Regions from separate parts of the Homo sapiens genome. Here all the other regions are linked to region 3. The links are contacts of gene promoters, found by promoter capture Hi-C in blood cells and fetal thymus (Javierre and others, 2016). All regions are on one chromosome and are shown on one strand. Each heading gives the region's core, a stretch centred on a gene start or on the middle of the fragment in contact. The rest is flanking DNA. Distances are from core to core; before and after follow the strand shown.

Region 1 (4,669 bases), core at 1-2,500, 170 kb before region 3:
GGGACGGTGACGCCTGCCGTTCCCGGAGCCGGCAGAGCAAGGTGGGGCCTCAGACGGGAGCCCGGGAAGAGGGGCCCCAGTCTCCCCAACCCACCTACCCACGTTCCCTCCCCAGGTGGAGCTGGCGTGTGGAAAAAGCAACCGGCTGGCCCATGTGTCCGAGCCGAGCACCTGCGTCTACGCGCTGACGTTCGAGACCCCCCTCGTCTGCCACCCCCACGCCTTGCTAGGTAGGGGTGCGGGACGCAGTTGAGCCCAGTGGGGTCAGCCGCGCACGCAGCCCTGCTGGAGGCCCTGTAGTGCTGGGGGCCAGGGTTGGGACATGGGGTGCAGCTGAGCCTGGCTTCTCTTGGGTCCTCAGTGTACCCAACCCTGCCAGAGGCCCTGCAGCGGCAGTGGGACCAGGTAGAGCAGGACCTGGCCGATGAGCTGATCACCCCCCAGGTAAGCGTGCGCTCGGGGTGGCCCCTGGTGGGCCTGGCTGGGAGCTGGGTGCTGCCCCTGCATCCTCCACCTTCAGGGCCATGAGAAGTTGCTGAGGACACTTTTTGAGGATGCTGGCTACTTAAAGACCCCAGAAGAAAATGAACCCACCCAGCTGGAGGGAGGTCCTGACAGCTTGGGGTTTGAGACCCTGGAAAACTGCAGGAAGGTACCGTATTGGGGGGAGGTGGTGGCACGCAGTAGCCCTCCAGCACCTGGGCTTTCCCTTGAACTCTTTTTGTGGTTGGTAGGCTCATAAAGAACTCTCAAAGGAGATCAAAAGGCTGAAAGGTTTGCTCACCCAGCACGGCATCCCCTACACGAGGCCCACAGGTGAGTCACCTGTGGGGAGAGGGCCAGGCTCACCATCACACTCGCCACCTGTGGGTCCAGGTGAGGACTGGCCACCTGGTGTTTTGGCAGAAACTTCCAACTTGGAGCACTTGGGCCACGAGACGCCCAGAGCCAAGTCTCCAGAGCAGCTGCGGGGTGACCCAGGACTGCGTGGGAGTTTGTGACCTTGTGGTGGGAGAGCAGAGGTGGACGCGGCCGAGAGCCCTACAGAGAAGCTGGCTGGTAGGACCCGCAGGGACCAGCTGACCAGGCTTGTGCTCAGAGAAGCAGACAAAACAAAGATTCAAGGTTTTAATTAATTCCCATACTGATAAAAATAACTCCATGAATTCTGTAAACCATTGCATAAATGCTATAGTGTAAAAAAATTTAAACAAGTGTTAACTTTAAACAGTTCGCTACAAGTAAATGATTATAAATACTACCTTCTGGGTTAAGAAAATTCCATTCAAATAACATTCTCATGTAAATACTCAAACATACAGATTGAGGCTTCCAGAAATTAATCCACTTGAGGCGTCCACGCGGAACAAGGTCTGCTGACCACAGTTACACACGTCGTGACACCACTGTATCACGGCGAATGTCGAACACTAGAGTTACAGACGACAGGCAACAAGAACATGCAGAGCCGGCCGCCAGCCAGCTCCTACGCCCCGTGCCCGCCATGGCCACAGGGGGGAGCTGCTGGGCGCGCCTCCACCTCAGCCTCCACGGGGCACCTTCCAGCCACTGCTGTGCCTCAGCCACCTAGGAGCCATCCCTGAGGCCATGGCCACCAAGACAGGTGAGGGAGGCCCCAGGGCACACAGCCCCAGGATCTTGCCCCCATTTCCAACCCTGGCAGCGCTGCCAGCCATTCTTTGGTCTTCCCACTGCTCACCTGTCCTCAGAGCCAGTACTGATCTAGGGGAGCAGGTGCCACCTCCATCTCCCAGCTGTCCCCCCACCCCTGGGGCTCCCCAGCTCTACCACCCCGGAAGCTGAGCCCTGGAGACACCCTGAGGGGCGGGCGCCACCTCCTTCCCAGAAAGAGCAGAGCAGCTGGCAGACTAGAGCTCAGCTGCTCCTGACCACTGACAACCGGGAGATGTCTCGGCAGACACCACTTATCCCAGAAAAGACCAGAGGCTCCAAATGGGAACCAAGTGCATAAATACAAATAAAAACAGAGTTTACACATCGATGACAGTAGCACAAAATATACGTAATTTCTAGATACTGAGCTAATAAATCACTGTAGTTAAAAACAAAATAGATTCACTGAAACCAAGTCGATAGTTACCTTGGAGTAGTGGACTAGCTGCAGAATGTCACGGACCCACTTCCTTTAAAACAACAGAATGTTGCTATCAGTTTGTCTTACGTTAAAACAGTTCTTAAACCACCTACTATATTAAATACATTCTAATTTGGTCACTGATGATAAAGATTTTTACCTAGACGTTTTGCACTTAAAAAATGCTATTAAAAGTCTTTGGCAAAGCCACGGTCGGGGAGAAACACGTCGGTGCCGCTTCCCACTCGTGTGCCCTCACCACCCACGTGGCCCGCGGAGAGCCAGGTCGCCGTAAACCACAGATGCCTGTTCCTGCTCAACTCCTAGGGACAGTCCCAGCCCTGAGCAGAAGGGTCAGGTCATCGCGGGGATGCGTTCTCAGTCACGTTTCTGCTGCGGCCGAAACCACACTGTCGCTCCAGGGGCAGACGGGACAGGGGACCACAGCAGAGCCGGGACCTGGGGGGGGTCGCTTCCCCCGTGTGCTCCAGGCCACTGAGAGGCTGTGGCCGGGTCCTCTCCTGTGACCTCACTGGCCACATGGATGAGCTCCGATGATAACTGGCAGCGCGGGTCAGGTGACTGCCACATACACCCGGCACCCCGGACCCTGGCGCACACACGGCCCGAGCATCTCCCACACGAGCAGGACCAGGGTGGTCACGGGTGCTGGGGAGGCAACCACTCTCCCAGTTCACTGCCTGACCCCTGCCAGGACGCCCAGCGACATCTCCAAGGAGCTACAAAGCACCATTGCCTAGGACAGCTCTGAGTAATCAGAAAACAGCTTTTTTTTTTTTTTTTTGAGCCAGAGTCTCGCTCTGTCACCCGGGCTGGAGTGCGGTGGCGCGATCTCGGCTCACTGCAACCTCTGCCTCCCAGGTTCAAGCGATTCTCCTGCCTCAGCCTCCCGAGTAGCTGGGACTACAGGTGCCCGCTCTCACGCCAGGCCAATTTTTGTATTTTTACTAAGACGGGGTTGCACCATGTTGGCCAGGCTGGTCTTGAACTCCTGACCTTAGGTGATCCACCCGCCTCCCAAAGTGCTGGGATCACAGGCATGAGCCACCGCACCCAGCCAGAAGACAGCTGCTTAAAAAAGTAATTCTAAAAGCTCTGACGTCGGATCCCCTCTGCTGCGTTTTTTGTTAGTATCAAACTGTCTTTCAGAGGGTTAAGGGAGAAAACAAAACCCATGATGCTCCTTCACTTGCTCTCCGAGGCGCAGGCGCACAGAAACAGCGGCCACGGACCACAGAAATGCAGGACGGAGCTCTCCTGCTCCCACGCCACGAGGCTGGAACATCAGCCCCAGTGCCTGGTGCACACACAGGCTCAGGAAAACTAGCTCCTTCCATCAAGTTAAAAACATCTCAATCCATAATCACTCTGCTTATAAATACTATTTGCACTTAATTGGAAAATGTAAAAATCCTAGGTCTTACTACTAGATAAACACTCATTTCATAAGTACTAGTTTCAGAATATGAAATCTAATATATTTAGCATACTATGAATTGACAATAAACTGATATGAAATATTTAAGTTCACAGTACACATATAAAGCTTCATATTATCGCATATTAAAAAAAAACAGAAAGCAGCTTAGAGCAATTTATAACCTCTAACTAAATTCCTCGGTTTACAAAGTGCTTTGAAAGACCCCAGCTCCCAGTGGCCTAGTCACAGTAGTGTCAGGACCACAAACTGCTGTGATCACAGCGCCGCGTGGATCCCGGAGGCACCAGGCCCCTCAGGGACAGGCAGGCGGGTTCTGTGGGTTTGCATTTAAGGTTTTTGAGGAAAATACCTTGAAACCGTCGGTAGGACTAGATAGGTGACAACGTGTGACAGGAAAGGCTGTCAGGCCAAGCGCAGGCGGGGCTCCCAGCCTCATGATAACGTGTAACAGGAAGGGCTCCCAGCCTCGGTCCTCACGTCGGTGGCACCAGAAGCGAGTGACGACATGTCCGTGGTCAGGAGGAGCGCTGGAGCCAGGGTGCCCAGCAGGAGGTGGCTGTCCCCGCTGAGGTCACCACTGCAGGGGCTGGCCCTTGCAGTAGGGGCACTCAGGTGCGGTGGCCGCACACGGCTCACAGAGGATGTGGTGCTGACAGGGCCGCAGGACAGCACCGTGGGCCCGCTCCCGGCAGGCCACACACTGCTTGGCGCGGAGCTGGAAGATCACCTGCAGGGCCAGAACAATGACGGGCTCAGGAGGCCCCTGCCCAGGCTGGGCCAGCTGGGGAGCCGGAGGGCCTTCCGGGCAGGACTCAGCATCTCAGGCCGCCCGGCCACCAGCTACAGAGACAGGGTCAGGGAGACGCCCCAGCCAGGGCCACCTCAGGGAGAAGGCAGCTGCGGGGTCAGGGGGTATGCTCTGTCTTAAGAGCCCTGGGCAGAGGACAGCCTCCTGGGGCCACCACAGACACGGCAGTGGCCAGACAGGCCAGGCCCCTGAGGGCAGCTGGGTGCCCAGGATGTGGGCTACGCAGGACCCTCTGTCCTATAGCAGCGAGTCCAAGAGCCCACCCTTAGCAGGCGAGGTGAGG
Region 2 (4,561 bases), core at 418-2,917, 150 kb after region 3:
CTCATGCTCAGCTCACATAAGACTTGATAAATTCAGTTCAGTTCGAAAGATTGCAGGCCTTCATCCCTTATTTCCAAAGAGAGAACTGTAGAGACCCGTGCATGTTTAGACCTGCTACACTATCCAAGAAAAATCGCAGAATTGGCTGGGCACAGTGGCTCACGCCTGTAATCCCAGCACTTTGGGAGGCCGAGGCGGGCGGATCACTTGAGGTCAGGAGTTTGAGACCAGCCTGGCCGACGTGGTGAAACCCCGTCTGTACTAAAAATACAAAAAAATAGCCAAGCACGGTGACGCACACCTGTAATCCCAGCTACTCGGAAGGCTGAGGCGGGAGAATTGCTTGAACCTGGGAGGTGGAGGTTGCGGTGAGCTGAGATCGCGTCACTGTATTCCAGCCTGGTAACAGAGTGAGACTCCATCTCAAAAAAATAAAATAGGCCGGACACAGTGGCTCATGCCTGTAATCCCAGCACTTTGGGAGGCTGAGGTGGGCGGATCACCTGAGGTCAGAAGTTCAAGACCAGCCTGGCCAACATGGTGAAACCCCGTCTCTACTAAAAATAGAAAAATTAGCTGGGCATGGTGGCGGGCATCTGTAATCCCAGCTACTCAGGAGCCTGAGGCAGGAGAATCGCCTGAACCCAGGAGGTGGAGATTGCAGTGAGCCGAGATTGTGCCATTGCACTCTGGCCTGGGCAACAAGAGCGAGATTTCGTCTCAAAAAAAAAAAAAAATGTAGAATTAGGAGGGCTGCGTGATTCAAAAATGGATATGGAAGTCAGATGGCCTTATGGCCACTCTAAGAGCACCTCACCTAAAATCTTGTTAAGCCACGCCCTCCCACCCACCACCCTTTATTTTTTTTCCTTTTGGTGAAACAAGTCCTCACTCTTTCGTCCAGGCTGGTGTACAGTGATGCAATCATGGTTCACTGCAGCTTTGACCTCCTGGGCTCAAGCCAGCCTTAGCCTCCCGAATAACTGGGACAACAGGCGCATACCACCACACCCAGCTAATTTTTTGTTTGTTTGTTTGTTTTTTTGAGACGGAATCTCGCTCTGTCACCCAGGCTGGAATGCAGTGGCGCATCTTGGTTCACTGCAAGCTCCGCCTCCCGGGTTCACGCCATTCTCCTGCCCCAGCCTCCTGAGTAGCTGGGACTACAGGCGTCCGCCACCACGCCCGGCTAATTTTTTGTATTTTTAGTAGAGACGGGATTTCACCGTGTTAGCCAGGATGGTCTCGATCTCCTGACCTCGTGATCCGCCCACCTCGGCCTCCCAAGGTGCTGGGATTACAGGCGTGAGCCACCACGCCTGGCCTTATTTTTGTATTTTTTGTAGAGACAGGGTCTCCCCATATGCCCAGGCGTGTCTCGAACTCCTGGGCTCAAACAGTCCTCCCACCTCGGCCTCCCAAGGTGCTGGGATTACAGGTGCCAGGTACTGCTCCCGGACAGCCCTTTCTCATTTAAGCTTGGTTATTGGTTATTTTTAAAAAATAATTTTTCTTAAGTGCACCTGTCTTTTTTTTTCTCCCTCCTCAAATCCTCCAGGAAATGGCAACTGCTGACAGGAAGTTTGGCATCCACCTCCCCCAGCCTCCTGAGTGGACAGGGGCCCTGGGCACCACTTCAGAGGTCGGCCAGCACACGCTTGGTTTCTGGGGTACAGTAGCCAGCCCGTGGGTCTCTGCAGGCGGAGACTGAAGCACTCTCTGCCTTCCTGCTTTATAGCAGGAGATCTGAGAACTCCATTCACATCCAGTCACAAGGAGCCCTCAGCGCTCTTTCTAGATCTTTTGAGGAGAAACTGTTATTTTTGTTAACCAAACCTTGAGTGGTCAGTGTTTGCAAAGCTTTCCAGTGAGATCTAACCTCATATCATAGTTTTTGTGTGATGTTGAGCCCTGTAATTTCAAGTATGGTCATCCTTGGTATCCTGCGGGAGTTGGTTCCAGGACCCCCAGGATGCCAAAATCCAAGGATGTGTAAGTCCTTGATATAAAGTGGTGTAATGTTTGCATATAACCTATGCACATCCTCCATATGCTTTTAAATCATCTCTAGGTTACAAGGTTACATATAATACCTAATACTATGCACATAGTTGTTACACCGTATCACCTGGGGAATAATGACAGAAAAGAAGTCTGTAGATGTTCAGTACAGATGCAACCATCCTTTTATTTCTGACATTTTGATCTGAGGTTGGTTGAATCCATGGAAGCAGAGCCCGTGGATACAGAGGGCTGACTTCGTTTCTAAACGTCTGGGATCACAGACAGTCCCATTGCTTAGGACTAGTGAGAGAGCATGTGCCACTCACTGGTTTAAATCTCAATTTCAGTAAGCCTCTCTCTCAAATGCATTTAAAAGTTTTTCCAGTTGTTATGAATTCAGCGTTTCACCGGTTTTTAATGTAGATAGTGCTCTAGAAATAGAGCTTTGTGGCAATTCCTTATTAGTTCTTAAGTTTAAGTTTTTACAATAAAAAGTGATTCAAGAGCCAGGTGCGATGGCCCACACCTGTAATCCCAGCACTTTGGGAGGCCGAGGCAGGTGGATCACCCCAGGTCAGGAGTTCGAGACCAACCTGACCAACATGGCGAAACCCCGTCTCTACTAAAAATACAAAATTAGCTGGGTGTGGTGGCGCATACCTGTAATCCTAGCTACGTGGGAGGCTGAGGCAGAAGAATTGCTTGAACCCAGGAGGCGGAGGTTGTGGTGAGCTGAGATTGCGCCATTGCATTCCTCCAGCCTGGGCAACAAGAGTAAAACTCCGTCTCAAAAAAAACAAACAAAAGTTAGCCAGGTGTTGTGGCAGGCACCTGTAATCTGAGCTACTCAGGAGACTGAGGCTGGAGAATCACTTGAACCCAGGAGGCAGAGGTTGCAGTGAGCTGAGATCGTGCCACTGCACTCCAGCCTGGGCGACAGAGCGAGACTCCATCTCAAAAAAAAAAAAAAAAGAATACTTTTAAGGGAAACTAAAGAGCAGCAGAAGTAGTCTGGCGTCTGTAAACTAGTCATACCAGTATTAACTAATGGTGGTATGTGATTTCTCAGTAGATGTTAAGAAAATACTTTTGCTGGGTATGGTGGCTCATACCTGTAATCACAGCACTTTGGGACGCCAAGGTGGGCAGATCACTTGAGCTTAGGGGTTCAAGACCAACTTTGGCAACATGGCAAAACCCTGTCTCTACCAAAAATACAAAAAATTAGCCAGCTGTGGTGGTGGGTGCCTGTAATCCCAGCTACTCAGGAGGCTGAGGTGGGAGGATCACTTGAGCCCAGGAGGCAGAGGTTGCAGTGAGCCAAAATCACGTCACTGCGCTCCAGCCTGGGTGACAGAATGAGACCTTGTCTCAAAAAGAAAAAAACAAAATACTTTTACCCTGTCTAGTTGTGCCAAAATCCTTGCACAGTGACAAGCTTTCAGGTCTGCCATCAGTAATTGGCATGTACTCTGTGCTTGTAGGGCCATGAAGCCCCCAGGAGGAGAATCGAGCAATCTTTTTGGAAGTCCAGAAGAAGCTACTCCTTCCAGCAGGCCTAATAGGATGGCATCTAATATTTTTGGACCAACAGAAGAACCTCAGAACATACCCAAGAGGACAAATCCCCCAGGTATGGGCCTTTGGAAATCCTTAATCCTTTGGCCTCCACGATTCTCTTTTGAAAATATTTTCTGTTTCTTTATACTGATCCTTTCCCATATTGTCTGGTTCAGGTAATCACTTGTTATCAGAGTTCTTCCAAAATGAAAACGTTCTGATTTGTACTTTCTCTCTTGAAGGTGACTTGAGTAGTCTTGAATTCTCCATCTGTTCTGGAGACTTTGGTTGAATACAGGCACTGAGGACACAAAAGTGGACGGGGGCTTCTGGTTCCTGCCAGGGAGCTGCTCCCAATTGTTCCACGGACCCCCATGAGATTCCTGAAATTGCGTGCAAATTATTGTGCATTTAAACATTTTTCCTAGGGAGGGAGAGTGTTTTTATTCAGATCGTCAGTGGGATTGAAACTCTTAACAAGGAAGAATTGATCTAGCACACATCTACATAGTTCTTCAGTATTTACCCAACCTCCTAGTGGTTACAGTAGGAGGGACTCTTTGAAAAAGGTTTCTTGGCCAGGCGCGGTGGCTCATGCCTGTAATCCCAGCACTTTGGGAGGCCAAGGTGTGCAGATCACGAGGTCAGGAGATCGAGACCATCCTGGCTAACACAGTGAAACCCCATCTCTACTAAAAAAGAAAAAAAATTAGCCGGGCGTGGTGGCGGGCACCTGTAGTCCCAGCTACTCAGGAGGCTGAGGCAGGAGAATGGCATGAACCCAGGAGGCGGAGCTTGCAGTGAGCCGGGATCGCACCACTGCATTCTAGCCTGGGTGACAGAGCGAGACTCCGTCTCAAAAAAAAAAAGAAAAAGAAAAAGAAAAAGGTTTCTCAGCCGGGCGTGGTGGCTCATGCCTGTAATCCTAGCACTTTGGGAGGCCAAGGCAGGTGATCATGAGGTCAAGAGTTTGAGACCAGCCTGGCCGACATGGCAA
Region 3 (4,755 bases), core at 1,483-3,982:
CCCTGCCTGCCAGGCCGAGGCTGCTGGGAGAACCCACGGGAAGGGCGGTCACAGACCCGCCAGAAGCGTCCAGACCCAGGCGCTCTCTGCAAGCTCCTTCCACAGCCAGCCTCCTGCTCGAGGGCACCAGCCCCGCGTGATTCCCACATCCTCTCCGCGACGGCCGGCCAGGGCTCTCGGGACAGCCTCCACTCCGGTGTGGGGTTCTGGGGTTTGTGCATCTGACATAAATTCCAAGAAGTAAACACCCTCTTAGTTCCCATCCAAGTCTTGAGAATTTCCTGTTGTCCCGGCCAGTCTGTGGAGTCACCCACATCTGCACTTCATCAGCCCCGAGGCACTGGAACAAGAAGCAGATGGGCGGCAGGGGACGCAGCCTTCAAAGGTCCTGCAGAAGCTCTGCCGAGACCACTCTGTGTCAGGATGAGGGTGGCTGGCGAACAGCGGCTTGACGATCATGCTTGCCGAGGCCGCCCCCTCCCTCCGTGTCCCTGTTCTGTGCTAGGGCTCCCGCTCTGCTGGGTATATGGGAGCCGCAGGCACATATGTGGGAGGGGGCAGTGGGACTCCACCGTGACCAAGACCCCAAGCAACAGGGAGAGCAGGAGGGTGTGATGCACTGTGGGGGAAGCCCACCGCCCAGCTGCGAGTCCCCTTACTGGGAGTCACCCCCCGAGAGCCACAGATCCTCCCAGGAGGGTCGCTCTTAACTTACATGCTGCTCCCAGGCCTTCCGCCCTCCCGCGCCCAGCCTGCCATAGCGCGCAGGGTTAGAAGCGGCGTGACAGCTGAGGGCACAGGGACCTGGAGCACCCCAGAAGTGCCAGGAGAGTGGAGGCCGATGCTGGCCTCTGCGAACCAGGACTTCTGGGGGTGCTGCCGCTGTGTAGGAGTCTGGCCGTGGCCTCCTCCCCACTCAACCTGAGGAAAGGACCAGAGCGGGCCGCTGAGACAATCAAACGTGTCCTCTGGGCTCTGAAACCCAGCATTGGCTTTTTGTTGGAAGTTAGCCATTTGAAGACTCCCGAAAGATTAATGGTTTAGTTAATTAAGGAGGAAATAAATTCTTCCCCCATGGAAACTTTTGGGAGACTTCCCTTTCAAGGCCCCCTTCTGCACCGTGTGCTTAGGAACACTGAGTGTTTGAGACACTGCACCCCCGTCCACCTCCGAGGAGCAGGGCACAGGCAGGAAGGGCTGGGGACATCCCCCCAGGGCCTTCCGAGCCACCCGGGAGAGTGGGGGCCGGCAGCACCACTGTGCCCCGCACGCCCCGTCAGGTTCCGGGGGCTGAGAACAGAAATAGAAACAGCAGCTTTTCCCTGGGCACAAGCCAAGGAAGAGGGGAAAGGAGAAACCTGACGGACACGTCTGCGACAAATCCCCGGGGAAAATCCCCCCCAGGCACGTCCCTCAGGAAGCCAGTGGAGAAACGCTTCTCAGGACCCAGCACGCACCACGGGCTGGTGAGGACGGAGCTGCTGCCTTTCTGGAACAGACACAGGGCGTGTGTGGGGAACCTTGCTTCACCTGTGGATATACAGAGCCACATGCCAACGTGTGAATGGAGACTGGTCCCAGGAAGTGGCAGCTCTCGGGACCGCCCTGAGCCAGGGCCCAAGCACGGGCAGTGCAAGGACAGGAAACGGTCAAAGCTCTGCTGTTACCACAGGCTGGGAACAGGACTCTCTGTCCCAGCACTGTCTTGGGCGTGTGCCCATGAACAGTTTGCACGGATGTGGGACACCTGCATTCACGAAGCTTTGGAGCCTGGGTAGGCTGGGAATCCCATGCTGGGTTTCGGGTCTCTGGAGATGGGACAGAGTAGGAGACCCTCTCGTGGTGTCTGCCCAGCTGGGCAGAATAATTCTGAGCAGAATAGACGAAGATGCTTCTGAGCTCCCTGGCAGCATAAGCTCTGCCCGAGAGCCTGACCACTCACAAGGTGACCTGCCTAGTCCTGTCCCCAGCTGTGGGGGGTGACCGTTCCCATCAATAGCAGAGGTGGCCCAGGCCCCACGTGACATTCGCTCTGTCCCAGGCCCCGCTGAGAGCCCCACCCAGCACATCCAGAATCTTACCCTTCTTGCCACCTAAGAATGACCTGGCCTCGAGGTCCTCCAAGTACAGGTCCCTGGCCCCGAGGTCCTCCAAGTACAGGTCCCTGGCCCCAAGGCCCTCCAAGTACAGGTCCCTGGCCCCGAGGTCCTCCAAGTACAGGTCCCTGGCCCTGCAGGTCTGGGTGAACTTGCTCCCTCCAGGCACACGGGTCTCTCCCCTTCCCAGCAATCCTGTGATATCTGCCCCCCTTTTGAGGGCAGCATTCCCGTGGCGGGGGCAGGCCTGGAACACACGGGCGGGGGGAGGCTTGTGGTTCCTATGGTCCTGGGGGTACCTATGGTCCTGGGGGCAACTGGATGGCTGGGGGGTGTGAAGTCCCCAGGGCAGGCAATAGTCGCTCAGTACCAGCCTCCAGGCCCCGGGGGCCACCAGGCTTAAAAGCAACAGGCGAGACGAGGGATCTGTCCCGCACCCGGCATCCCTGGCCTCTCCTCTGGGACAGGAAGATGGGGAGGGGCGGCAGGAGGTGGGCCTGGAGCAGGGCCTCAGAAGTCTCCTGGCCTTTCCCATCAGGAAGCACATCCTGTTGGTGTCTGGCTGCCGCGGCAGGGCCGCTATTTGTTGCGGTTGGCTACGCCTTCCAGCTCACCAAAAACAGTCTCAAAAACAACCATTTCCTCTCTGCTGAGAGCCAGGGAAGGCGAGCTCTGCGCACACGGGCGTCCCTGCAGCAGCCACTCTGCTTTCCAGGACCGGCCAACTGCCCTGGAGGCATCCACACAGGGGCCCAGGCAGCACAGAGGAGCTGTGAACCCGCTCCACACCGGCCACCCTGCCCGGAGCCTGGCACTCACAGCAGGCCGGTGCTAAGGAGTGTGGCGCGGGCTCGACTCCCACTGCTGCCGGCCTCCCGAGTGACTCTGTTTTCCACTGCTGCAGGCGAGAAGAGGCACGCGCGGCACAGGCCGGCCTCCGCTTCCCGGGAAGACGGCGCACTCCTGGCCCTGGGTTCTTGCTGCTGCCCACCCTCTGCTCCCTGGGATGGGCCCCGAGGCGAGCAGCTTCAGCACAGGCCTGGCCCTGCTCCAGGTGCAGGAAGGAGGATAAGGCCGGGCCGAGAGGCGGCACACCTGGACCATCCCATGGGCCTCCGCCCGCGCCGCCCCGAGGATGAGTGGTGATGTCCTCTAGCCACCCCTAGCAGCGTCGGCTCTCCCTGGACGTGCGGCCGCGGACTGGGACTTGGCTTTCTCCGGATAAGCGGCGGCACCGGCGTCAGCGATGACCGTGCAGAGACTCGTGGCCGCGGCCGTGCTGGTGGCCCTGGTCTCACTCATCCTCAACAACGTGGCGGCCTTCACCTCCAACTGGGTGTGCCAGACGCTGGAGGATGGGCGCAGGCGCAGCGTGGGGCTGTGGAGGTCCTGCTGGCTGGTGGACAGGACCCGGGGAGGGCCGAGCCCTGGGGCCAGAGCCGGCCAGGTGGACGCACATGACTGTGAGGCGCTGGGCTGGGGCTCCGAGGCAGCCGGCTTCCAGGAGTCCCGAGGCACCGTCAAACGTAAGTCCAATTGTTTTCCTGATGCCTTCAGCGTGGCCGAGGCTCGAGGGCACATGGGAGATGTTAGGCGCGGACCTGGTGAGCGGGTGGGGAGGCCTGGCCCCTGCTCTGCCCTGAGCGTGGCCTCTGGGCAGGCAGGAGGGGGCACTGTGTCTCCCAGGGAACCAGGCCCCAAGGCCCCCTCTCCCTGGTGAGTGGTGGCCCCACACACTCCTCCTGCTCAGCACAGAATCTGCCTCCAGCTCTTTTACACAGGAATTCATCTCAGGCATTTGGGGGGCCTCTCTGCCGTTACACATAGTTAAGAGATGGGTACATTAATCAAATCAAGGAAAGGCATTTTTCCTTGGTTGAAAATAATTATTACGGCTGGGCGCAGTGGTTCACGTCTGTAATCCTAGCGCTTTGGGAGGCTGAGGCGGGAGGACTGCTTGAGGCCAAGAGTTCAAGACGAACCTAGCCTACATAGCGAGAGACCCTGTCTCTGAACATAAAAAAAAAATGAAAATGCTCTTTCTTTACTCATGAGTAAAATAAACAAGAAGTTTAAAAATACACGGGTGAGTTCTGGCTTTGTTCTCACGGTTGTTGGGGTCTTTGAGGCAGAGAGCAGCAGCAGGATCCCCAGGGATGAGCTTCAGATGGGACGCTGGAAAGGAGACAGGGAGGCCAGGACGCTCGGAAGGGGACAGGGATGCTCAGTGGTTGCAGAGGAGAGGAAGGGGCTCAGAATGATGCCACCGCACCGTGGGGTTTGAGTGGCAGGTGTGAGGCTGCATAAATAGGAAGGCGCTTACAGCCCATGGGGTCATCTCAACAGTCACGGCACAGGGACACAAGGTCTCCCAAAGGCCGACTCTCTGAAACTGTCAGCAAGGTTTTGACTCGCAGACACCCCAAGTCTCTGCTGCAGAGCCTCACAGACTCGGGGTTGGACGCTCCTTCTGCTCTGAAGATAATGCTGGTCTCTGAGGCAGTGCCTCTGCTCCAGGCTTCCGAGGGAGTCCCGGAGTACTGGGGTAACACACATCACGTGTGCCTCAACCACACAGCTCCATCCCCAACCTGCCGCGCTCAGAACCCTCAGCGGGGAATGTCATCCCCACTTCACAGGCAAAGAAACTGAGGCTTTG

Evidence for each region. The method cuts DNA at HindIII sites, captures the fragments that hold promoters and counts their contacts. A CHiCAGO score of 5 or more calls a contact.
Region 1: a fragment that was not itself captured here is called in contact with the fragment with the promoter of TMEM204 in region 3 in 2 of 17 cell types (naive B cells and total B cells); the score reaches 5.8 in naive B cells.
Region 2: a fragment that was not itself captured here is called in contact with the fragment with the promoter of TMEM204 in region 3 in 1 of 17 cell types (endothelial precursors); the score reaches 5.5 in endothelial precursors.

What each region holds. Positions count from the first base shown.
Region 1 is chr16:1,362,091-1,366,759 of GRCh38, forward strand. It overlaps GNPTG (N-acetylglucosamine-1-phosphate transferase subunit gamma), which reads left to right. Exons shown (of 11, transcript NM_032520.5): 6 at 1-41; 7 at 116-230; 8 at 362-444; 9 at 521-652; 10 at 735-816; 11 at 907-2,023. The coding sequence ends at 1,001. It overlaps UNKL (unk like zinc finger), which reads right to left. Exons shown (of 15, transcript NM_001372107.1): 15 at 1,115-4,305. The coding sequence ends at 4,150. Among named protein-coding and RNA genes, the nearest start is that of GNPTG, 12 kb to the left of the region's middle. The HindIII fragment of the contact is 4,861 bases long and covers 1-3,681 here.
Region 2 is chr16:1,681,951-1,686,511 of GRCh38, forward strand. JPT2 (Jupiter microtubule associated homolog 2) reads left to right here. Exons shown (of 5, transcript NM_144570.3): 2 at 3,489-3,637. Among named protein-coding and RNA genes, the nearest start is that of JPT2, 6.0 kb to the left of the region's middle. The HindIII fragment of the contact is 382 bases long and covers 1,477-1,858 here.
Region 3 is chr16:1,530,934-1,535,688 of GRCh38, forward strand. TMEM204 (transmembrane protein 204) reads left to right here and starts at 2,733. Exons shown (of 3, transcript NM_024600.6): 1 at 2,733-3,622. The coding sequence starts at 3,343. The region is part of intron 19 of IFT140 (intraflagellar transport 140); the gene reads right to left. RefSeq lists enhancers at 2,059-2,762, 2,763-3,466. The HindIII fragment of the contact is 3,167 bases long and covers 1,760-4,755 here.